Linked DNA regions of Homo sapiens: regions 1, 3, 4, 5, 6 and 7 are each linked to region 2. The links are contacts of gene promoters, found by promoter capture Hi-C in blood cells and fetal thymus (Javierre and others, 2016). All regions are on one chromosome and are shown on one strand. The core of a region is centred on a gene start or on the middle of the fragment in contact, and the rest is flanking DNA. Distances in the headings are between cores, read along the strand shown. Region 1 overlaps PAX5 (paired box 5). Region 2 holds the start of GRHPR (glyoxylate and hydroxypyruvate reductase). Region 3 overlaps PAX5 (paired box 5). Region 4 overlaps PAX5 (paired box 5). Region 5 overlaps PAX5 (paired box 5). Region 6 overlaps PAX5 (paired box 5). Region 7 holds the start of LOC105376031 (a long non-coding RNA gene).

Evidence for each region. The method cuts DNA at HindIII sites, captures the fragments that hold promoters and counts their contacts. A CHiCAGO score of 5 or more calls a contact.
Region 1: a fragment that was not itself captured here is called in contact with the fragment with the promoter of GRHPR in region 2 in 1 of 17 cell types (naive B cells); the score reaches 6.4 in naive B cells.
Region 3: a contact is called between a fragment that was not itself captured here and the fragment with the promoter of GRHPR in region 2, in 1 of 17 cell types (total B cells). The highest score is 5.1, in total B cells.
Region 4: a fragment that was not itself captured here is called in contact with the fragment with the promoter of GRHPR in region 2 in 1 of 17 cell types (total B cells); the score reaches 6.4 in total B cells.
Region 5: a fragment that was not itself captured here is called in contact with the fragment with the promoter of GRHPR in region 2 in 3 of 17 cell types (naive B cells, M1 macrophages and total B cells); the score reaches 7.0 in naive B cells.
Region 6: a fragment that was not itself captured here is called in contact with the fragment with the promoter of GRHPR in region 2 in 5 of 17 cell types (naive B cells, total B cells, endothelial precursors and 2 more); the score reaches 10.4 in naive B cells.
Region 7: a contact is called between a fragment that was not itself captured here and the fragment with the promoter of GRHPR in region 2, in 3 of 17 cell types (total B cells, naive CD4 T cells and megakaryocytes). The highest score is 7.9, in total B cells.

Annotation. Positions count from the first base shown.
Region 1 is chr9:36,967,888-36,971,020 of GRCh38, reverse strand. All of the region lies in intron 5 of PAX5 (paired box 5), which reads left to right. Among named protein-coding and RNA genes, the nearest start is that of PAX5, 65 kb to the left of the region's middle. The HindIII fragment of the contact is 3,105 bases long and covers 1-3,044 here.
Region 2 is chr9:37,421,227-37,424,756 of GRCh38, reverse strand. It overlaps GRHPR (glyoxylate and hydroxypyruvate reductase), which reads right to left and starts at 2,061. Exons shown (of 9, transcript NM_012203.2): 1 at 1,924-2,061. The coding sequence starts at 2,006. RefSeq lists enhancers at 1,464-2,089, 2,090-2,715 and a silencer at 2,100-2,249. The HindIII fragment of the contact is 7,938 bases long and covers 1-3,530 here.
Region 3 is chr9:36,946,405-36,949,878 of GRCh38, reverse strand. All of the region lies in intron 6 of PAX5 (paired box 5), which reads left to right. Among named protein-coding and RNA genes, the nearest start is that of MIR4476, 55 kb to the right of the region's middle. RefSeq lists an enhancer at 1,696-2,220. The HindIII fragment of the contact is 3,086 bases long and covers 233-3,318 here.
Region 4 is chr9:36,910,918-36,914,078 of GRCh38, reverse strand. All of the region lies in intron 7 of PAX5 (paired box 5), which reads left to right. Among named protein-coding and RNA genes, the nearest start is that of MIR4476, 19 kb to the right of the region's middle. The HindIII fragment of the contact is 3,297 bases long and covers 1-3,057 here.
Region 5 is chr9:37,007,622-37,010,854 of GRCh38, reverse strand. The region is part of intron 3 of PAX5 (paired box 5); the gene reads left to right. LOC105376032 (a long non-coding RNA gene) reads right to left here. Exons shown (of 4, transcript NR_188579.1): 4 at 1,803-3,233. Among named protein-coding and RNA genes, the nearest start is that of PAX5, 25 kb to the left of the region's middle. The HindIII fragment of the contact is 2,352 bases long and covers 99-2,450 here.
Region 6 is chr9:36,985,162-36,988,383 of GRCh38, reverse strand. All of the region lies in intron 5 of PAX5 (paired box 5), which reads left to right. Among named protein-coding and RNA genes, the nearest start is that of PAX5, 47 kb to the left of the region's middle. RefSeq lists an enhancer at 925-1,880. The HindIII fragment of the contact is 5,123 bases long and covers 1-3,222 here.
Region 7 is chr9:37,026,871-37,030,020 of GRCh38, reverse strand. The region is part of intron 1 of PAX5 (paired box 5); the gene reads left to right. LOC105376031 (a long non-coding RNA gene) reads right to left here and starts at 2,076. Exons shown (of 2, transcript XR_929590.3): 1 at 1,934-2,076; 2 at 1-1,101. RefSeq lists enhancers at 74-553, 824-1,003, 578-1,252, 2,055-2,349 and a silencer at 2,024-2,483. The HindIII fragment of the contact is 6,093 bases long and covers 1-3,150 here.

The sequences.
Region 1 (3,133 bases), core at 243-2,742, 450 kb after region 2:
AGACATGCAGAGTGATGGTGCTTGTCACACTTGTCACAGGTAGTACCAATTCATTCATTTATTCCACAGATATTCGCTTTGGAGGAGAGAGAGATGAATTACCTCCCACCTTTACCCCGAAGGTAGCTCATAGCACAGTGTGGGAGTGAAGGGCCCAGGGGATGTGGTTCCTAAAATAAGGGAGAAAGTGGTCAGAGCCCTAAGAATGGGAGCTGGAGGACCAGCTGGGGCATGAAGGAAGGCATCCTGGAGGAGGAGACATGTGTGCTTCTGGCTGTGTCTGGAGAACAATGCCCGTGTCCATGGGAGATGGTTTCCATTCCATATGGGCACAGTGAATCACCTGCGGCTGAACAGGTGACTCAGCAGATCCACCTTCAAACACCCACAAATGCAAGCTCCTACCTCCCCTGGCCCCTAGTTTCTACCAAAAGAGGAGGCTTGGGAGCAGAGTTTAGAAAGCATGGCCTGACCTGAAGGAACGAGCGATTCGGGCCCTGGGACTGAGAAATGTGGAGGGCACATGTTTCCCCAGCCCTTCCCGTAGCTCCTCAAGACTCCTGCAGCAAGGCTCAGATCCTCTCTCTGGCCCCTGGGGCTGTCTGGCTCAATCCCTCCCAGCCTCTCCAGATTCTCCTGGGGCCTCTTCCCTCTCTCCCTCTGTTCCTTTCACCCCCTTCTCTCAGGGCCTTTGTACGAGCATCTCCTCAGTCTGGCACCCTCTCTGCCCCATCCCCTCTCCCTGGTCACTCCTCACGGTTCCATGCAGTTCCTCTTGGAGACTTCCCTGATTCCTCCCACAGGAGGCCACTCCCCTCTCCATTACACATGGTCACATGGATATATTTTTATGCTCTCTTTTCACCCTAGCATCAGTCACCGTTGTTTGTAATCCTATGTTTATTCCTGTGATCACTTGACTAAAGTGGGCTGCCCTCTCTAGACTGGAGAGAGAGAGGCTTGTCTTGGTCATCACTGTATCCCCTGTTTTTGTTTATTTTTAAAATATATTTACTTAAAAAATATTACCTGATACAGAGTAAATATTTTATCAATATTTGTTAAACCAATGAATAACTAATTATGTGTTTTGGAGTGTCCAAATCCTTCTTAAGGAAATGACAGACACTATTGCCATTATTTCCCTAGTAAAGAAAGCAAGCGAGGTGCTGGTGGGGTGAGAGTGGTGAGGGGAATCGCGGGACAGGGTGAATGCCCGGAGAGGCAGGCTCTGCCCAGCTCGCAGCCCTTCGAGGGCAGTCCACCCACCTCGGCCTCCCAGGTGCCAGAATTACAGGCATGAGCCACGGCGCCTGGCAGCCTAGATATCCTTACAGGCTCAGCTGGCAGAGGCTATGGCTGACTCTCAAAGAACCAGAGCAGGACGCAGCCAGTCTGCTTCTGGGGAGACTGCAGAGAGGGGCGCGTGTCCAGCGAGGCTGCCTGTGCTGAGTCTGTGTGGTGTCCTCAGGGGGAGGGTCTCCTAACACCCCCTGTGTGTACACTTGAGGGCCTGTGTGCCCTGAGCCTTTACTCTGTGCTGGGCTCTACTGGGTGACCAGACAGTGACCTTGCCCCCAGGGGCCCTCAGTGGAGCCACCCTCTCTGAACTTTGGGCTCTGAGCTGTGGAAAGAGCCTGGCCCATGAGTCCCGGGGGAGAGGGATCAAGCCTGAGGACTCCTCTGGGAGGATGGCCTGGCTGGCTGAAGAGACGCCCCCTAGAGGGGCAGAGTTGAGGGGATCTGATGGAGCAGCCTGGGTGGGCCGGAGGAGCTGGGCACTGCCCTGCTGGGGACAGAGCCAGGCCTCAGCGGGAGTTGTTAGGAGATGGCTGACAGGAAGGAGGTTTCACTGAGTTTTGGGCCCGGCTGGCAGGGTCAGGGCTGGGAAGTATAACTGAAGCTGGTGGAGGGAGAAGCTCTTGAAAGTGGATGGGCCCCTTCTGACAAGGAGGAACTTGGTGGTGTCCTGGGGACCAAGGCCCACGTCATGCTTTAGCAAGAGTGACTGGGACCAGGATGACTGGGCAGAGCCACAGCTGAGTAGGAAAAACTGAGCCATCTTTCCTGGTGTGCGTGTGCGTGTGCATGTGTGTGTGCATGTGTGTGTGTGCATAGAACCTTTGAGAAAAGGATCATTTGGTGGGTGCTGACCAATGGAAGAACACTGCTGGGCAGATAGACTGGGCCGTGAGCTCCCATACCTGCTAGTCTAGGTGACCTTGTGGGAATGGTCCCCATGGGGATGGGCCATGATGGGAGAAGGGTCTCTGAGGATGATGTCCTGTGGGCAGGAGCAGGCACCTGTCTTGTGGAAGGCCAAGGTCATGGGCTGCCAGAGGAGGGGCCTAGGCTTCAGGCTGGGGAACGTTGGTCAGAGAGACCAACTTCTGCCTTGGCCCACATGTGGGGGTATCTGGTCACTCAGGCTGTGGCCCAGCCTACAGTATCCTCTTGGGTCAAAATTGGTGGGGAATCCATTTTCTCAGAGGGCTCATGAGCTGCCTCCGAAGGCCCTTCCTATAGAGGATGCTGGGTCCTCTGAGCCTGTTGACTTCTACGAGGGATCCGAAAGGCCAAAACTCAAAGCTGCTATCTTTGTTCAAATGTCAGCCCTGCATTGCAGTTGTCCCCAGATAAGTACAGTTGAGGAAGCATTGACTTCTGACTGAGTCTTGGTGACACCACATCTCACTGCTTCATGGTCTTTAGTCTGGCCTCATTCCTCACATGGGTGGGAGCTTGACGTGACGGATGAAGTCTAGTCTAGGGCAGCAGTGCACTGGTGGGGGCAGGGGTCAGACAAGGCCTTGAGTAAGGGCACCTTTCAGCATGAGAGCAGACCCACGCTGGTTTTCCCCAGGGCTTCCTGACTGCAAAGGCAGATGCCTCACCTCTGGGCCTGGGTTTCAAGAAGCCTCTGGTCAGCCTTGCGTGAGCAATATGGTCCCAGAGAGCCCCGGGGAATGATGTACCCCCGAGGCCATTTCCTCACGGGAAACATTTGCCCTCTGTGCTTGATTTTATTTTGAACAGTTCAAGCTTGAGACTCAACAGAAGATATTTCATCCCATTTGTTTCTTTATTGATAATTCGTAATATTTCTTTTGACATGTAAGCATCATCACCAGAG
Region 2 (3,530 bases), core at 812-3,311:
CTGGCCTCAGGCTGCCCGGGGCTGGCTGAGGGGAGGCAGGGTCAGGCAGGGGTGGTCTCAGAACTGTCCCGAGACAGCAGGTGACAGGTGAAGGGCTGAGGGGCCCCCCAGCAGAGCCTAAGCTGCAAGGGGGAAGGCATGGGGACAGCTCTCAGGTCAGCACAGAGAAGAGCTTTCCCACATTCACAGGGGCTGGGCGGCCAAGCAGGCGGCCAACTGCAGGGAAGGCCCGTGGGGGGCAGGGTGTGCCTCAGGTGGGGGGCCTGGATTCAATGGCCTGTTGCATCTCTTCCTGTCCGTGGAGTCCATGAAATAGAAAACTCTCATAGTTGGACTGGGCCAGGAAAGATAAGGTCAAGGCCACCCAACGCTTCCACGGCAGCTCACAGCAACCAGATATTTGTCCCAGTGATGCACGGTGCCTCCTGGCCCTTGCCATGGAATTCAGTACAGTCAGCACGTGTGGAGCCTCTATGTGGCAGGACACAGGATAGCTACTTGCACCTCCTGACTGAGCCCAGGGCACTGACCACCTTTCATCCACCTCCCCATGAGCAGGGTACAGCGTGAGCTACTGTTACCATGGGCGCGGTTGCTGCCTTCCACCTTCTCCTGCTCAGTACAAAGTGGGTCCTTGGCAAAGGTTTTGTTGCAGTGAACAAAATTTGAAAATCTCATATGCCCCTAGAACTGGCTGCTGAGGCTGGATTGCATCCTCTTCCTATCTAACATTGGAAACACAAACCTGATCAAATGCAGTGATCAGACAGCAGTCAGACACTTCTGAGTACAAGCCCCAGCTCCTCCACCTGGGAGCTGCATGGCTTTGGGAAGAAACTTAACCCTAAGTCCAGCCTCCAGTTTTTAATCTGTGCAATGGGAATTATAATACTGACTTCACAGTGCTACCAGGATTAAAAGTTTATGTATATGAAGCACCTGGCAAGGTTGGCCCACAAAAAGGGTTCCATTTAGCAAGGGTGGGCCAGGTGCAGTGGTTCATGCCTGTAATCCCAGCACTTTGGGAGGCTGAGGTGGGAGGATCCCTTCGTACAGGAGTTCAGGACCAGCCTGGGCAACACAGTGAGACCCTCGTCTTTGAAAAAAATAAAAAATTAGCCAGGCATGGTAGTGCATGCCTGTAGTAGTCCCAGCTACTTGGGAGGCTGAGGTGGAAGTATCTCTTGAGTCCAGGAGGTTGAGGCTGCAGTGAGGTATAATGGTGCCACTGCACTCCAGCCTGGATGAGAGTGAGACCCTGTCTTAAAAATTAAAGGGTCCTCAGGCCAGTCATGGTGACTAACACCTGTAATCCCAACACTTTGGGAGGCTGAGGCAAGAGGATTGCTTGAGCCCAGGAATTTGAGACCAGCCTGAGCAACAGAGTGAGACCCCCATCTCTACAAAAAAAAAATCAGAAAATTAGCCGGTAGTGATTGTTTGCGCCTGTAGTCCCAGCTACTCGGGAGGCTCAGGTGGGAGAACTGATTGGGCCCAAGAAGTCGAGGCTGCAGTAAGCCACGATCGATCGAGCCACTGCACTCCAGCCTGTGCAGCAGAGTGAGACTGTCTCAAAAAAAAAAAAAAAAAGATAAGTAAATATAAAGAAGAAGAGTCATCAAAGCCCCCTGCCAAACGTCCAAGGGCCTGGTCAGTGACCGCCATGTCCCTGACCCCACATGTCCTGTGGGAGCGTGGAGAATTAGCCTGGACCTTGCCTCAGGGGCAATCTCCCCTCTCCAAAGCCGGAACTGCAGGTCCCAGCGTCGTCTTAAGAGGAGAACTGGGCCCCAGAGAACTTTCTCCGAGACTCCCCAAAACTCCAAGCCTGCCCCAGCCGGCCACAAGGCCCAAACGCCCCGCCCGGCTCTCCGGTCCCTGGGACCGCCCTGCTCCCTCCTCCACGGCGCGCGAGGCTCTTACTCTGCCGCCCGGGCGAGCGCGACCCTACCCTCGGCGGGTATCCTGCGGGTGACGAACACCTTCATGAGTCGCACCGGTCTCATCCGCAGTGCAGCCGCCGACCCGGACCTGGCAGTACAGAAGCTGGCCCGGGAATGTAGCTGGGCCGGGGCGGGGCCAGGCTGGAGTGGGCGGGAGAGACGTCGCGCGCGGCGTGCGCAGGGGGTGTGGCTTCGCGAGAGGGAGCGCCGGGTTGCGGCTGAGCGGTGACTGTGCGTGCTCGGGGAGTGACAGTAACAGTGACCCTACACAGTGTCCTTGTGTGTGTGTGGGGGGGTGCGCCTCGTGCCACTGGGGAATCAGGGCCCCGGGGGAGAGGGGGCAGTATCCCGTCCAAGGCCTCATGGGAGCCCTGCTTTTTCTACACGCTCAGGGTCCTGTTTCCACAGGCTCAGGCCTTAAGAGACTGAAAGCCCCCACTTTTTCTGTCTCTTGGGTTGGCCCAGGGTAGAAACCCAGGTTCCAGGCTGTGAGGAAGTCCAGGACACACAGAGAGGTCACGTGTAGGTGTTCAGGCCAACAGCACAGCCAGGGGCCCGGCTCACAGCCACCGTCAATGACCAGAGGTATGAGTGAGGAAGCCTTCGGGTGACTCCAGGCCAACTCCCACCTGACTACAGCTAAAACTGCAAGAAAGAGCCTTTAGGAGAATCACTGGCTGAGCCCAGTCAACCCCGGAACCATAAGAGATGATAATGCACTGACTGCTGTTGCTCTAAGCCGTTCAATTTTGGAGTAATTCTTTATGCAGCAATAAATAAGTGATACGCTATGTGTGCGAAAGCCAGAAGCCATAAGAGTACAACTAATTCTCCATTGAAAAATTAACCGTACCATCCTGAATGCATCTGATCTTGGAAACTAAGCCTGGTTAGGGCTTGTATGGGAGACTGCCTGGAAATACCAGGTGCCTGGAAATACCAGGCTTATGTTTATCTTAAAAAAAAAAAATTAACAAAATCATAAGACAACAAACCGGGAAAAATACCATATATTTGCAACTCATTTTATAGACAAGGGGTTGATTTACTTATTGCACAAATAGTTCCTAAGACAAAGATGCCCAGCTTATCTGAATAAGCAAAGGATATCAATGGACAGTTTATAGAAAAGAAAATGGCCTTTAAATGTATGGCTGGGCGCGGTGGCTCATGCCTGTAATCCCAGCACTTTCGGAGGCCGAGGCAGGCGGATCACTTGAGGTCAGAAGTTTGAGACCAGCCTGGCCAACATGGTGAAACTCTGTCTGTACTGAATATACAAACATTAGGTGGGCATGGTGGCACATGCCTGTAATTCCAGCTACTCAGGAGGCTGAGGCAGGAGAATTGCTCATGAGTCCAGGAGATGGAGGTTGCAGTGAGCCGAGATCCCATCACTACACTCCAGCCTGGGTGACAGAGTGAGACTCCATCTAAAACAAAAAAAAACAAAACAAACAAAAAAAAAAAACAAAAGATGAAAAGTGCTCAACTTGACTCACAAAAGAACTGCATATTAAAATTACAGCAAGATACCAATGTAAAAAATAATACATTGGGGAACCAGGTGCTTTCATACGTTGCTGG
Region 3 (3,474 bases), core at 526-3,025, 470 kb after region 2:
ATTTCACTAACAGTATGAGGGGATTGGCTTGGGCAGATAATGTGGAATTCTGAGGAGATGCTGTGGTAGGATGGTGTGGTGAGCAATGGCATGGAATTTTGCAGACCCCATGCCTGGCCCAGAAAGGCCTGAGGAGAGGACGGTGGTGTGCTTTCTACTGGGGAGTGCGTCAGGGACCCATGTCTGGAGGACTGCTGGAAGTAGCATAGTGTCATGGTTAAGAGCACAAGCTTCGGAAGCAGCTGCTTGTGACTTTGCAACCTGTTACGTTAGTTTTGAGCTCACGTAATCTCTTGGGAGATTGTGGTAATAAAAGTGAATGTAGGCTTACCTCTGGAGTCTATGTGATTCTTCCTTTATTCCTAGCTTTGAGAACACTGGTTATTATCACATCTCAAACAAATACGAACTTTTCTTCCTTTGTGTACAAAGTTATTATTTCCAATCTACTTGGCTTTACCACTGCTTTATCCTCAGTTTTCTCATAAGTAAAATGGGGATAATAACAATACTTGTGTTGGCCGGGCACGGTGGCTCACGCCTGTAATCCCAGCACTTTAGGAGGCTGAGGCAGGTGGATCATGAGGTCAGGAGATCGAGGCCATCCTGGCTAGCATGGTGAAACCCCGTCTCTACTAAAAATACAAAAAATTAGCCAGGCGTGGTGGCGGGCCCCTGTGGTCCCAGCTGCTTGGGAGGCTGAGGCAGGAGAATGGCGTGAACCCGGAGGCAGAGGTTGCAGTGAGCCGAGATTGTGCCACTGCACTCCAGCCTGGGCGACAGAGCGAGACTCTGTCTCAAAAACAAAACAAAACAAAACAAACAAAAAAACAGCAATACTTGTGTTGTAGGTGGTTGTACTGATTAAACAAAGTTTGACAGAGGGTTCAGCCCATAGTAGGTACTCCAAATGTTCCTTTATTATCATTGTTATTATTATTAAGGAGTGTTCTGCCACATCAGAGGTTCTACAGGGCAGAGAGTCAGGGTCATGGTGGGAAAGGGATCAAGAAAGCTCAGGTGGGTAGGGCTGGGTTGGGCAGGAAAGGAGTTGGAGAGGAGGCAGGAGGGAGTTTGCGCAGGGAGACAAAGTGGCTAAGAATTGTCTTGGTGGGAGGGAATGAGAGACAGACCAGAAGGCCCTATCTGACCTGCAGTGATGGGGCATTTGCACTGGGGAGTTTCTGGGAACTTTTTCTTCCCCAGACTTTCTCTGTTTTTACTGTTTGCTTGGCTACAGATTACACAGGCAAATGAGCCCAGGCTTCCAGGGAAATATTCCATTAAAGCAATCAAAATAACAATTTGTATCACTTTTAGAACTTCTGCCTGAGGAGCTAAGAAATCTTTGTACTAAATTATTAATTCTGGGTTGTACTGTAAGGATCTTCCCCTACAAACAAACAATTTAATATTTCCTTTTTGGTGCAACAGAGGACGAGTTCTCCGGTCTCCCAGATCTGCCTCAAAAGGAGGGAGGAGGTATTTAAACCCAGACTGTGATACTTCTAAGGAAACTGCCTAACAGAATGTGTCCCGTCCCTCTCGGAGGAAGGGATGGACTGTCAGCCTCGGTAACCTTGTTCTCAGGGACACTCGCCGCTCCCACTTATGGTCGGGCTGCACCTGTGCTGGCCACATGGCAAGGCGGTAAGAGCCAGAGCTCTGGAGTCCCTGGTCCTGGAACCTGGCGTGCGTACCTGCTGGCTGTGTGATTGGGATAGTTTGCTCCCCCTCACTCAGCATCAGTTTCTCCATCCACAAGAGGAGGGTAGCCATGCCGATATGCTAGCACAGAGCTGGTGTGAGGCTCCCGTGTGTCTCCAAAGTCTTGGACAGTGCCTGGCACGTGGGAGACGTTCAGAGGATGTTATTTATTATTATTTGCATTCTCAGGGAATGTCTCAGTGATATAGACACGGCTCTGCCTTTCACCAGGGGCAACGGGGGTGGGGTGCACAGAGAGTGTGTGGGGAGGAGGATGAGGAAGAGGGTGCCAGGTAGGGAAGTGGAAAGAGGAAGAAGAGAAAGAACAAAAGCATGGAGACATATGCATATGCGTTCAGTCTGGGAAAGGGAGAGTAGTTTCAGGTGGCCAAAGTGTGAGGTGTGCTGGGGGTGGGGGTGATGGTTTTGGAAATTCTGTTAAAAATATATATATATATGTTCACACACACATATGCGTACAAATATAATATAATGAAACATCATATAATATGTAATACAGTAATGTAATATCTGGACAGTGCATATCCTTAAATACTTTCACTTGAGACCATTTGAGACCAGCCTGGGAAACAGAGCAAGACCCCATCTCTACAAAAAAACTAAAAGTTAGCCAAGCGTGATAGCTACTCGGGAGGCTGAGGTGGGAGGATCACTTGAGCCCAGGAGTTCAAGGCTGTAGTGAGCCATGATCATGCCACTGGACTCCAGCCTGGGTGACAGAGTGAGACCCTGACTTTAAAAAAATAAAAAATAAATAAACAAATGAATACGTAAAATTTCAGGAAACTGAGGAAATGGTACTTGATCCAAAGCAAGGTTTAAAATTTTTACATTGCATTAGCCTGACAGGACATTTATGGTAGGTTTGGAGCCACAGTGTAATTTTTCATCTTTTAAACATCAGGGCTTGTCACTTTGGATGTTGGAGTATGAGGATCAGTGATGGGCCTGATGGTGCTGCCTCTGGAGCTGCCAGGAAGGGGAACGTTGCTTCCATAAGGGACATCATTTTAGGAACAGGCATATTTATTTATATGGGCTCCTCTGAATAAATTCATTTATGAATAGAATCTGGATGTCAAATTATAGCACATGGAATAAATCTGGAGAAATCCTGTGATATATGTGCCCTGGGGGCAGCACTATTCACTGTTATCCTTTTTCTGGGCTTCTGATCCTGTTTAGAATGGGTTTTTGGGATTTGGAAAAAGTAATCACTTCCCTCCTGTTTTGGCCCTGCACGTGGCTGAGTCATCATTTTACACTGTGGCTTGGGGGTTAGGAGCAAAGGAGCGGGAAGCAGCCATGGGGCTTTCCAAGTTGGTTGGGCCCTGCCTGCTGGTGGTTGGTAAAGAAGTTGCCTCAACTGTCTCCTGGGGATGCTTCCAGGCCAGCTCACCAGTGGATTTCAAGTAACTCAAAATGGACTTAAACCGCAAAGTGTCCTGGTGACCGTAACCTATCTCTAGCACGTAGTTTTCCCTTCCATTACTGGTAGTCAGAAAGCGCATCTATGCTGTGGGGCAAAACAACTCAGACATGTTCACACATGGCCTTGAGAGACAAACCTCTCATTGCTTTGGAGAAGCTTAGCTACAGGAAAATCTTACAGGACAACTGACATTGGTCATTAGATTCCCCTCATGGGCAGATTTGAGGTCAAAATTTCCAGAGGTTTCAACCTGATGAATGTGGCCCAGGTTTTGGCTGGTTGTGGGGAATCTTATTTTCCAGCACTACACACTG
Region 4 (3,161 bases), core at 160-2,659, 510 kb after region 2:
GCCCCCATGGATTTTCAAAACGCCCTCTGGAGGTGCAGTTACCCACCCCATTGAGAACTGTTAAACACCTTGAAGGAATGCCCCCAGGAGCTGTTGGGGGGTGGGGGGCTCTGTTTCACCACACGGCATTCATCTAACTCCACCTGTGTTAGCGGATGTGCTGACATAGTGCAGAGCTCTTCAAGGGACACTCAGAACCTTCCGGCCCCACCTCTCTCCTTTTCCCTCCCCACAAAGCCCAGAGTGCTGTAGGTGCCCAGCTGGATGGTGAGCCCGGCCCAGGGCTCTACCTGGGGTCTGGGGAACAGATGGCTTCTGCGCTGCTCTATCTCAGCCCTCACACTCTGGGCTGCTCAGGGAAGATCTCATTAGAGAGGGATATATATGCCGCATTAAATATTAAGTTAAACACCTGCTCTACCAGCTAGGGCCACAGTTCTGAAACTGCTCACCATTTGCAAACTGGTGACATGGCCAGCCTGTTACTGCACTGTCAGCAGTTTGGGCCTGTCCTGATTGGGACTAATTATCTGCAGGTGTCTCATTGGGCCACAGGCCTGCTGATGGGGGAGCCACTGTGCCTACCTGCCAGAGAGGACAGCGGGTGGGGCACCAGGCTCCCCACTTCTGCTCACCTCTCTACTGGTGAAGGACTTAGCTGGGTCCACCTGACCTTTTGCCTGAGAGAACAAAGGAATGGGGCCAGACTGTATCTTGCTGGCCTTTTTCCCTGAGGAGCATCTCTTTGCATCAGTAAGTTGGCATGTGAGGAGGAGACAGAGAGAGGCCTCCTGTGGGCCAGCAAGTTTGGGAAACACTAGCCTGGTAGGAGACCTGGGCCCTGGGGACTGAGGCTCCCCCTGGGCACTGCCCCTTTTTAGTAGCGGAAATACCCACAAAGACAGACAGAATGGCTGCCAAGTCCCTGAGTCCACCTGCTCTGATTTGCAGTATCCCTCAGGTTCAATGTTTGGAGTCTCAATACCCAAAACTTGGCAGCCAAAGAAAGTCCACCCTCTTCTGGCTTTTAATCTGAGCAACAGCCAAGGGCTGAGGGAAAGAGCACTGGAACAGGAGTCAGAGGAACAGGTTTCTGTCTGGACTTTGCACCTAACTGGTCCTGTCTTTGGACACATTGGTCATCCTCTTCTCTCCAAGCTCATTTCCCTATCTATGAAATAGGGGTGGTAATTCTGCCCCTGCCTCCCTTGGCTGTTTCAAGGATAAAATGAGCCAGTGGGAGGAGGGGGATTAAGAGCCACCGAAGGGGTGTCTGAGTGTATGTGGGCAGTTGTGGAGAAGGAGGCTTGGAGGAGTTTGGGATCCAGCTTTGGCGAGTCCCAGCCTTCCTCAGAGCAGACGTTCTGACCATACCTGGGTAGGGTGGGAGGATCCTGTGGTCCCACTACTCACTTCACAGCTGGGGAGGCTGAGGACAAGAGAGGGAAGTGACCTGCTCAAGGCCACATTTAGTGAGTGAGAGCTGGAGCCCCAGTTCTAGCTCCCCCAGGGCCCTGGCTTCCACAGCCTACTGCCATTATATGATGAAATGGACTAAAAAAATCCCAGTTCAAATTTCCTGAAGGCGTCTCTTTCAGTGTGCAGTTGAGAATGTCAGCAGGGAAGCCAGATTACCAGAGCTGGAAGCCCACTTCACCGTATTCTAGCTGGGTGATCTCAGGCAAGTTACTAATTTCTGGGCCCAAGTTTCCCATCTGTAAAATGGGCCAGCACTAGAGTTTTCTCACAGCTTCTGGCAAGGATTATATGAGCGGACCTTGCAGAGTGCTTAGCACAGTGCTTGGCAGGTGGTAAACACCCCATAAATGGTAGTTATTACTATGTGTCTGGGCTCTTGTCCAGAGTCCCTTATCTCTGCCCTGGGGGCATAAGACAAAGAGACATTTGCCCAGCGACAGCTCTCTACGTGGGGATGCTCTCCGAAGGGTCCTGATCCCGCAGAAATCCTCAGAAGGTGGTGGAGTCTTGGAGACCCCGTCAGGATGTCTGGCTGAAGGGCAGGGGTGGAGAGCTCTGAATTTTTTCCACTTGTTTAGAGTCCCAGTGTCTATCATTGGAAGCAGGGACATCCACTGTGTGTTTGGGGATTTTGGGGAAACAGTAAACACTGCATGGGGTTGCTTTCAGCCTGTGAACCCACGGACTCCAGACCTGGGGCGTCTCAAGGGCTGGGGAGCCCAGGCTGGTTTCGGCTGCGTGGTGGAGACCCTCTGCTGGGCTGAGTGGCTTTGGGGTTTTCCTCCTCAGGAAATATGTTCTGCCTCCTCTGTCACAATCCCCTCTGGCGGGGTGCCAGGCAGCTCTGAACAGCGATTTGTTCATTTTTCCATGGGGCATGCCTCCTTTGACCCATTTTTATGAGCCTTTTTGAGGCTCATGAGATGCAGTGAAATACCTCTTCTCTCAGAGTGAAATCATAATGAATAATGAAAGCAAAAATACAAGAACACCTTATGTATCCAGGCTGCCAAAAGGCGCTGTAAAAAATTACAACAAGAGCTACAGTGCAGGATGATACCCTGCAACTGAGTGTCGGCCACGGGGCCGTCCTCGGAATTCCATGGAAGATGCTGGGCTGGCTATCAGAGTTGTTCTGTGGGCCGGGCGTGTGGCTCATGCCTGTAATTCCAGCACTTCCGGAGGTCAAGGCGGGAGGACCACTTGAGCCCAGGAGTTCGAGACTAGCCTGGGCAACATAGGGAGACCCCCCCGATCTCAAAAAAAAAAAAAGTTGTTTTGTGCATTGGAAAGGAGATAATATCAGTAGTTACAGCTTATTGGGCTCTCGCTCTGTGCCAGGCCGGGAGTACCATGGTGCCCCTGGTGGACAGTCCCTGCCCTCACTGGGCTTACTTGTGGGGCAGAACCAGGCAATTTACAGTAAACACAGAATAAATTTGCAATGTAATTTTACCAGGGCATGTGCTCTGAAGAAAATAAGTGGGAGAGAAGAGAGAGACTCAGGGAGTGGTGCCCAGCTGGGGGGATCTCTGTAAAATGGTGGTGTTTGATCTGAGATCTAAATGTTGAGAAGCTTTGTGGGGAGCTCGGGGAAAGGCATTCTGGCAGAAATTACAGCTTCAGCCTTTTAAATGTACAAATGAATGAACGAATGAATGAATGACATGCATATCCTAAAG
Region 5 (3,233 bases), core at 25-2,524, 410 kb after region 2:
ACAGTCACAGGCCTGGGTGCCACCTGTGGGGCCCCTTGCAGCTTGGCACAGTTGGACCCCTGGGTTTTGAATTCTCGGCATAGCTGATGGCCCAAGCTTCTTACTGCACTGATGGCAGTTTGATCAGTGCCATAGATGTGGGTGTTTCTTCAGCCTTATCTTCCTGTTTCCTTTTTCAAGGCACCATGATTTTCTCTTTCACTGTAATTTTGTGAGGACTGGTGGTGGGGCGGGGGGCGTGGGATGATGGTGAGAAGCCTAGCCTTTCAAAGAAGGAAGAGTGATGTTTCCATGGGATCCTTAAATGCCACAAAGTCCCTCAGAGTTTTAAACCTCAAATTCTAAGTGGGTTTGAAATCCAAATAGCTTTTATGCCTCACATAGGAAGTATTTAGCAGAGGGACCGCGCTTCCTTTGAATGTGGCTTAAAGTAAAGTGCTGGGGCATGGGGGCTGGGAGTCTGGGCTGACTCGCTGTGCAATTCTGGGCAAGTCATTTGAGCATCTTGGGTTTTAGTTTCCTTATTCATAGGAAGAGTTTGATGCTGAGCTCCTTTCTCTGTTGGAACGTCTAGTGTGCTCTGCAGTACGGCAGCCAGGGTCCTGCTCACGCTCAGCAGGTAAGGGACGGGCAATTTGGTGTGACTGCCAACTCAGCCCAACTGTCCCTGGCTTAGAAAAGGTCCTGAGTGTGTTCTTATTGGATGAGTCTTGACAGCCTGTCATATTTAAAATTTAAAATTTGTTTAGAGTTGTTATGATTCAATTACAGTCTTGTTCTTCCCACTACAGTTTCTTCTCAGTGTAAGCTGATGCTCTTTGTTTTTACTTGGTGACTGCTAAAGGCAGATGAGCAAAATCTCTCACCCCTGGGGGCAGCTTCAGAGGCTTGCCTATAACTCTGAGATCCCCCTTTATAAAGGACAACCCTGATGCATTCTTAAAACAGTGTGAGAGTGGCTACCTTCCCCTCCCCAGCTTCCAAGGGGGCCACTTGTGCTTTATTATTATTATTATTTTTAATTTTTATGGGTGCATAGTAGGCATATATATATATATTTATGAGTACATGAGATATTTTGGTACAGGTATGCAATGAGTAATAACCCACCATGAAAAATGGGGTATGCATCCCCTCAAACATTTATTCTTTGTGTTACAAACAACCCAATTACACTCTTTTAGTTATTTTTAAATGTACAGTTAAATTATTACTAACTATAGTATCCTCATTGTGCTATCAAATACTAGGTCTTATTCATTCTTTCTATTTTTTTGCACCCATTGAGCATCTTTACTCCCCCACCGCCCTCGCCTTGTGCTTTTTAAAGCAAATGTGAAAAATATGAATATTTTAAGACGGAAGCTAGTCATTAATCTTTACAAAGACACCACTGAAAATAACATCTTACATTTAAGGAGCACCTAGTATGTAGCTACCACTGTTTTAAGTAATTCATTAATTTAATCCTAATAGTAATCCTATGAGATAGAAATGATTCTTAGTCCCATTTGCAGATGAAGAGACTGAGGCATAGAGAGGTTAAGTAATTTACCCAAGGTCATGTAGCTGGTAAATTGTAAGAGGGATGGGATTCAAACTCTAGTGGTCTAGTTCCAGAGCCTGTACACTGTGCTACTGCAGCCTCTTAATGATTTATAACAATTGATAATGCTTTCCCAGTGATATTTATAACTATTTTAAAAGAAAATGAGGAAAACATAATTTTCTTTGCTTTTTTACATACAAATTTAATAGTCAGACAATGATTTGAAAAGTAAGGATTTTAAGCTGAACTACAGTGACTTTTTTGCCATATATTTATTTGTAACTATATTTATGTCTGGTATATCCATATATTGACATATCCAGCAATATCTCTGTAGACACATACACACAGAGAAAGTGACATACACAAAAATATAAACATTAGGTCAGATGCCAGCTTACTTCCAGGTGACCAAAAAGAGAACCTCACTCCCAGAACTGGACATTTTATTATGACCCACTCTTCTCCCAAATGCCATGAGTTTTCTGGTTGTCCAATATGCTTCGAGTTTGCTTAGTTAAAATAAGTGGTTTGAATATTAGGGAAAACAAACAAACAATCTGAATGTATTTGAGGGAACACTTAAGCTGACTGATTAGAAAAGGGCAAGAGGCTCCTTGCTGAGCTCAAGTAGCCAGGCTCCAGATGGCCTGTGTGTGTGTGGTGAGACTATAGGGTGAACAGAAAAGACCATTTCAGGCTATCAGCTGAGGACACGGACTGCCCTTGGTGCCGAGCACCAAGCTGTAAGATCAGAAAGGGCAGAGAGGCTACTGCCCATTGAGTTTAAGGGGAGGCACCCACCTGCTACTTCTGTCATTCTTCATTTGTATAAGCTGGAGACCCAGTGCAGCCTCAGAATAAACTTTCAGATATTAATGGTCTGGAATGTGAAAAAGCTTCTCACAGAATGTTGCATGAAAAGAGCAGGCTGCAAAACTGTATACATGGAGGCTGAGTGCGGTGGCTCACGCCTGTAATCCCAGCACTTTGGGAGGCCGAGGAGGGCCGACCACTTGAGGTCAGGAGTTGGAGACCAGCCTGGCTAACGTGGTGAAACCTCTTCTTTACTAAAAATACAAAAATTAGGCAGTGGCATGCGCCTGTAGTCCCAGCTACTCGGGAGGCTGAGGCAGGAGAATCAGTTGAACCCTAGGGGCAGAGGTGGCAGTGAGCTGAGGTTATGCCACTACACTCCAGCCTGGGTGACAGAGAGAGACTTCGTCTCAAAAAGAAAAACAAAAAAGCAAAAAAACAAAAAAACTGGGCATGGTGGCGCATGCCTGTAATCCTAGATACTTGGGAGGATGAGGCAGGAGAATCACTCAAACCTGGGAGGCGGAGGTTGCAGTGAACTGAGATCGCACCACTATACTCCAGCCTGGGCAACAGAGCAAGACTCTGTCTCAAAACAAACAACCACCACAACAAAAAAAACTGTATACATGGCATAATCCTGATTTTGTTAAGAGAAAAATGGATATTTCTAAATATGCCCAGGAATGTTGGTATAAAGGAAATACACCAAAATACCGTTTTTAGATGTCTTCTTTATACTTTCCCATACTGTCCAAAGAGTCTACAATGAACGTATATTACTGTTATAATGAGAAAAAACTCTAATAAATGTCCTTTCAAAAGGTAATAGTTTGAGACTGGAATATAACTTTTCCAAAGAAACCGG
Region 6 (3,222 bases), core at 581-3,080, 440 kb after region 2:
ATGATCATTTTATTTATATTACTAAGTTTCATGATAGGATTGTTCAGCTTAGGGTCAGAAGAAAAGGAAAGAAATACCAACTGGAATTCATGCTGGCAGAATTTCAGCTCCATGTTTCTGAAACACAAATAATTCAAGTCGTAGCTGAGGGCAGCTGTCAGAAGTAAGGTGAGCCTGACACGACACTGGAGAAGCCTGGGTTTCTCATCCTGACTCAGCCGTGGCCTTGCGGTGTGGTCTGAGTCAGGTCCTGCCCTTCCGGAGCCTCGGTTAGGACCCACTGAGTCTGGACAACCCTTCCAGCTCCTGATCCTTTCTCCTCCCCCGCTCCCCGCCGCTCCCCCTCCCTCCTTCTTCATCTTCTCGCTCTTCGTTTCCTTTCTGTCTCAGACACAAACGCCATCCAGCACTTCTGAATAGTACTTTTGTTCCGTGAACATCTCTTTTCTGAAAAGGACGATTGGTCAGGTTTGTATCTTTTAACTGCTGGCACATTTTATCAGTTAAGAACCTGCGTACCTCCCTCTCGGGAGACAACCTTAAGGAGGCAGGCAGGCAGGCAGAGAGGCAGAGACAATGGGCGAAAAACAACTGTTTGGGGGCCTAATTTATGGTTCCTCCAGCAAATGCCTTCCTTCGTGGGAGCCCCTTTCCCCTTTCCTGCTCTTCCCCATGGCCCCGAGCATCTTCCAGCAGACCCCAGTGTATGACTCCTTCCTAGCTCCCCAAAGAATGGGGAGAGGGAACGAGCAGAGCCTGTGCCTGAGCCATCTCGTTCAAGGCCTTCAAGGCGGGGCTTGGAGTCCTGGCTTGGCACTCCCTTGCTGGTGATCTTGGGCAACCCATGCTGGGCCTCGATTTTCCTACTGGCACCAGAGAGAGCAGGACGCCTTCTTCAAATTCTTGTGCAAATTCGGCGAGAAGAAGTGCATGAGAAAGTGCTTTATAAGCTGTAAAGCTCTCTTGCCTATGAGAGTATCATTGTAGTTCATCTCACATACCCGCTCTGTGGCAAGGGACACATTTCTGAACATCTCCAAGGGTCGGTTTCCCCATCTGTAAAATGGGGACTATATACTTAGGTCATACAATTACTGTGAGAATTCCATAACAGAGGCAAAACACCTGGTACAGTTCTTGGCAGTGGGAGGTGCCCAGGTCTAGGCTGGGCCGTTTTCCGTTTCCCTTTCTTATTCCTCCACAGCGCCTTTCCCTGAATGCAGCGTATAGGCACGCAGCCGCAGGCGTTTGAAACCCAACTGGCCACTCTCTGGCCTGCACCCCACTTCGCTCCTCTGTAGAAGTCGGACAGTAACAGTATCTGCTTCGGAGGGCTGTGGGGGAAGATTAGACTGTGCCCATCCGTGGCTCGGCACAGCGTCAGCACCAGGTGAACGCTGGTGATGCTGCCAGGCCTTCCTCCCTCTGGACACCCAGGCACTGGGCATGGGCTGGACGGGACCCCGGCCACCATCTCCTTCGAGCCTACTCGTGGCCGGTGAAGAAAGCCAGGCATGAGAGGAGCAGGAAGCGAGTCGCTCAAGGGCGCACCGAGTCATATCCCAAGATCTTTGAAGGAGGTCCAGGGATCCGCGGTGCCACCGTGAGAATACAGCTCGGCAGAGAGGCCGAGGTCCCTGCGGGGAGGCCGGTCCCTTCCTCCTCGGCCCCGCGGTCCGGGCGCCCCGTGGGCCTAGCTCCCGCCCACCGGCCGGGAGTCCTCGGGGCTCGGGCTCCGACGGAGGAGTCCCCAGGGCCGGGGGCGGAGGGCAGACGACTTCCAGGAGGTCACCTGGATTTCCTGCGCGACGTGGAAGGAGAAATGAATTCAGCTGCGGCCGAACGTGGCGCAAAGAGAAGGCTGAGCGCGGCGCCCCCGGGAAGGAGGCCGCCCGCTCGCGCCGGCCTCCGCCAAGCATTTGCAATTTAATTGACATTGGCGGCAGGAAGCCAATCAGTCTAAGTCAATTGACGTTCCGAGATAAAACTAATCGGCGGCCGGCGCTGCCCCCGCCGGCGCGGCCGCGGCGGGGCCCGGGGCGCAGCGTGGAGGCGGCGGCGCGCCCTGCAGGTCCCAGCGCTGGCGCGTGGCTCGGCCCGCTGATTGCCGCGCGGCCCGCGGCGGCCAGGAGAGGCCCGTAATGAATGACTTTATTTGCCGGGGCCCCGCTGAGAACAATTGAGTTTGTTATGCTAACAACGGATGCCAGCTTTCCGGGGCCCCGGGGGGCGCGGGCGCGGCGGCAGCCGGGAGCTGGGCAGCGGAGCAGATGATGCGCGCCGGGGCGAGGGCGCCGGACGGGGGTGCCGGGCGGGGGTCGGACGGAGCTGGCGTCGGGACCCGGCCTGGAGGGGCGAGGCCGGTTCGGATGGCGGACGCGCAGCGTGGAACCGGGATGGGAGTTCTTGATCATTCCTTGATGTTGGACAGGCAGGTCCTCCTGGGTGCGACTGCCACTCTTTCTTCCCTCTGTCCCCGAGCCTGAGTGGGGGTTCTGATCTTGCTGGATGATGCCCTGACATAAACTTTTTTGTCTCTTGCACCGGTGGAAAATTAGAAAAAGGCACAAACACAAAGGCATCACTTTTTCCAGTGACCTGCTGTGGCTTGGGAAGTTCGGGACTGGATTTTGACCCTGCCACGTGTGCTTTGCGCCCTGGAGGGAAGGCCTTCCTTCCATCTCTGTCCCCTGTGTGTATCCCCATGCTCTGTGGCCAGGCGCCGGCCTCAGAAAGCTCTTCTTGCCCTACACAGAAGGCTGCCTCATGGAGATGGCTGGCTCTGAGGCCCCACAGCCTTCTCCTGCCTCCCCCTTCGGACCTTGAGTTCCAAGGGCAGAAGTCGTCTCCCATTCGTCCCAGACGCCCTCAGTGCCCAGCATAGGGCCTGGCACACACGTGGAAGTAGTAGTGAGGGAATGGACTTCTCTCTTCTTTGCGATCTCTTGCTTTCCCTCTGGTTGCAGACACCAGAGTCCCCTTTTCCAGTTCTGTTTTCAGGCATGCTGGCATTCCCTCACTCACTAAACAACTGAGAACCAACCTTTCATCCAAAAAAGCCCTGGCCAGGGAGAGATAATGTAACCCGTGTGATGAGTGTGTGGCAGGCACCTGCTATGTGCTCAGAGTTGGCAAAGGTGTAATAAGTGCTTGCTGAGGGCTTTTCCCTTTGTCATGGCACTCAGAGATCCCTGGTGCCACCCGGTGACAATCACCACCCCA
Region 7 (3,150 bases), core at 456-2,955, 390 kb after region 2:
CGTGTGCGGGCATATTCCAGCCGAGTTCTTCGATTTGGCAGCATCGCCCCTCCCCCACCATCCCGAGAGCGGCTCTGGAGAGGCGCTTTTGAGAAAGGTTTCCAGCCCGCAGCCTTTCTTCTACCCCAGACTTGCTGTGTGACTTTGGACAAGTCGTATCCTGCCTCTGGGCCTCGGGTTCTGCACCCGTGAAATGGAGAAAGCATAGCTTCGAGGCCCTTTTAGCTCTAAGAATCTAGAGAACCTGGGTTTGTAGGCCTGAGCTCAGCAAGAGAGGCTGGGGGTGGGGGTGTCACTGGCTGCATCCCTCAGGGCGTCCCGCACTCCCGCCTCTCCAGTAGGTGTGCAAGCCGCCATGTTGAGTCTGGGCCGAGGATCTGAATTCTGGTTATTTCCGACCCACTGGGCGCCATCGGGTGAAGCCAGTGCAGGAAGTCTATTCCATCCCAGTCCCTCTCTGCTGTTGCGATCTTCCTGCTCCAAGGCCGGGGGTGAAAGGGGAAGATCCGGACAGGCGGGGTTCCAGACAAAGAAGAGATAACGCCGCCACTCCACCCCGGCGCGCACTGCAGCCTCCTGGGTCCCCAGAGTCCCGCCTGGGGCCGTTTTCCGCAGCTGTGCCCTGGTGGGGGGTGGGGACGGGTGTCAGCGCCGGAAACTTGTCTACTGGTCAGGGACAGCTGGGTGTGGAACAGGGACAGAAGGTGGGCCCAAGAGTCGACCCCAGTGTAGGAGTTTGAGAAGTAGAGCATGCGTAGAGAGAAGGCAGAGGAAGGGAAACCGAGGCAGAGAATAAAACAAGAGGATAACCCAGGAATCCTCTCATGATCAGCCTGTACTCTTCCTTACAAGCCCAGTCCTGGAGCAGGCATCTCAAAGCCCTTGTTTTGTGGATTTATGTTTAATATTAGCGGATCATCACTCATGAAATAGAAATTGAGTCTTCGGACCACTCCCATGAGTTGCTGGGGCAAGGGAATCCTCAGCGTCGTTCTTGAGCCAGGGCCCAGATGGCTCACAGAACTATAGCTTCTTGGGTGAAGAATGACTGTCACACGCTTCCTTTTCAAGGTCCAGTTTCTTTGATTGTTGTCTCAGAGCCTTAAAACCCACAAAGAAGCGGACTCGCTAGTCAAAGATCCCTTGTGTAGCAAGAGAGTTCTGCTACAAATCCATCCATTTTGTCTACATAGGGACAGGAACTTCCCCTGTAGAGGGAAGGTCAGTTTCCCATCAACTGGAAGCTGCCGCATTGCAGCGCGCCTGGCCGCTTTGCTTGACCCTTGCAGATAGAATGCGCCTGTCCACCCGCCCGCTTCAGGGACCCTTATTAGCCCTGGACGCGACTTGGCTCATTCGGTTCTCAAGAAGCCTTGAGCCGGGTGCGGAATTTCTCCGGTGGACAGAAGCGCAACACCAGCTCCCAAAGCCTCTGGCAGTTCCTGATCTGAGGCAGGAAAGAGGGCCAGCCACTCTGCTTGGGCAACCTGGCCCAAAGCCTTAGCCCCTCCACCCAGGTGCGCCCTGGTGCGCCCCAGTTACTAACTTTAAAGGAGTGTGAGATATTCTCCCCCTTCCCCCAACGTCTCTGCCTTTCGTTAATGCAGCAATGAGGGCCCTGCAGGTGGAGTGAGGGAGGAGGGTGGACGACGAGGAGCCAGTGGTGGTTTAGTAGGTACTTGATAAAATTAGGAAATAAAATTAGGAAATATTTCCGTGGAAGGAGCCTTCAGTAAAATCTAGTTAACCCCACTCTGCCCATTTTACAGAAGAGGAAAGTGAGGTCAGAACTGGCAGATATGCACACACTCCGATGCACACAATCCGATCCCATCACGAGCCTGATGGTACAGGATCCCTACTGCGCTCCTTGTCTTCCTCCAACATACATTTTTTGTTTTTTGGTTTTTTTGGAGACTTCCCCCATTCTCACCCTTCAATCGACTGCTCTCAAGCCTTGAGAGCGTCCCAGGATCCCAGCATCGCTGTGGGGAGGTCCAGCCCGCGTGGGACCCGCAGCGGGACTCTCCAGGCACTGCGTGGGCCCCTTTCCCCTCCCCACAGCCGCGATCCACTAGGCCTTAGTCCAGCGCGTTTGTCAATGAACGTGGCGCCGCCGCCTGGGCCCCGCCCCCCATTCTCTCCCATTGCCCAGGTGTCCGCTAATCAGGCGGAGCCTGTGGGCTGCTTAGCCAATGGGGCGGTGTTTCGGGCCAGGGCCGGCTGACGCCACTCTGATTGGCTTGGTGGAGCGTGATTGGCAGGTTAGCCCCCGCCCCGCCCCCGCCCGGAGGGAGCTGAGCCCCGGGCGGCGCTGTCCACACGCAGCGGGTCCTGAAAGCGGCTCCGGGGCGGCGCGGTGGCGCACTGTGCGCGCCGAGCAGGCGGAGGGCTAGCGACGGCGGCGGCGGCGGCAACGCAGGCAGTCAGAGCCGACTGCGGCTCCATCTCAGCCCCGGCAGCCCCGGCGGCCTTGGTGGCTGGGACCCTCTGCTCTCTCCTCTGTTCCTCACTCCACGCCTGGGGCAGGCACGGCGGCCGTCCCGGAAGAGGCAGCGGAAAGACAGTGGAATCAGACCCACGAGGGAGGGCGGCGGGGCTCGAAGAGTTGGTTGGCACGAGGTAGACACCCCGGCGAGGAAGAGTCCGTCGCTGGTGTCCCCGTTCCTGGTCCCAGCGATGGGCGAGCAGCGGGGGCCGCGGGAACTTTGAAGGCAGCGGGTCTCAGTGTTGGAGGGCTGCACGCTCCCGGGGACTCCGGAGTCGCGGCCCCAGCGTCAGGGGCGGAAGCATCTCCAAACCCGCCAGGACCCCGCGCTGCCGGAGAGGAAGTTCTTTGCAACTTCGTCCGAGACGTCGGAGAGCCAGTTGGAGAGAGGCGGAGGGGGCAAGTCCGAGCCCCAGAGACTCGGAGAAGCAGAGAAAGAAAGGATCTGGCGGAGACCGAGGGGTCGAGGAGGGACCTCAGAAGCATCGAGGCCGCGGAACCAGCCTGGCAGCCCCCGGGTCTCTCCGCCCCCTGAGTGAAGTCAAGGGCCGATTGTTCCGGCGGCCTCCTCAAAGCTGCTCCTTCCTGGGGCCGGGGGCTGCTGGCTGTCCCGGAGGCGGGCCCCTACGCTATGCCCCCGAAGCCGCGGGCGCCTTGGCCGC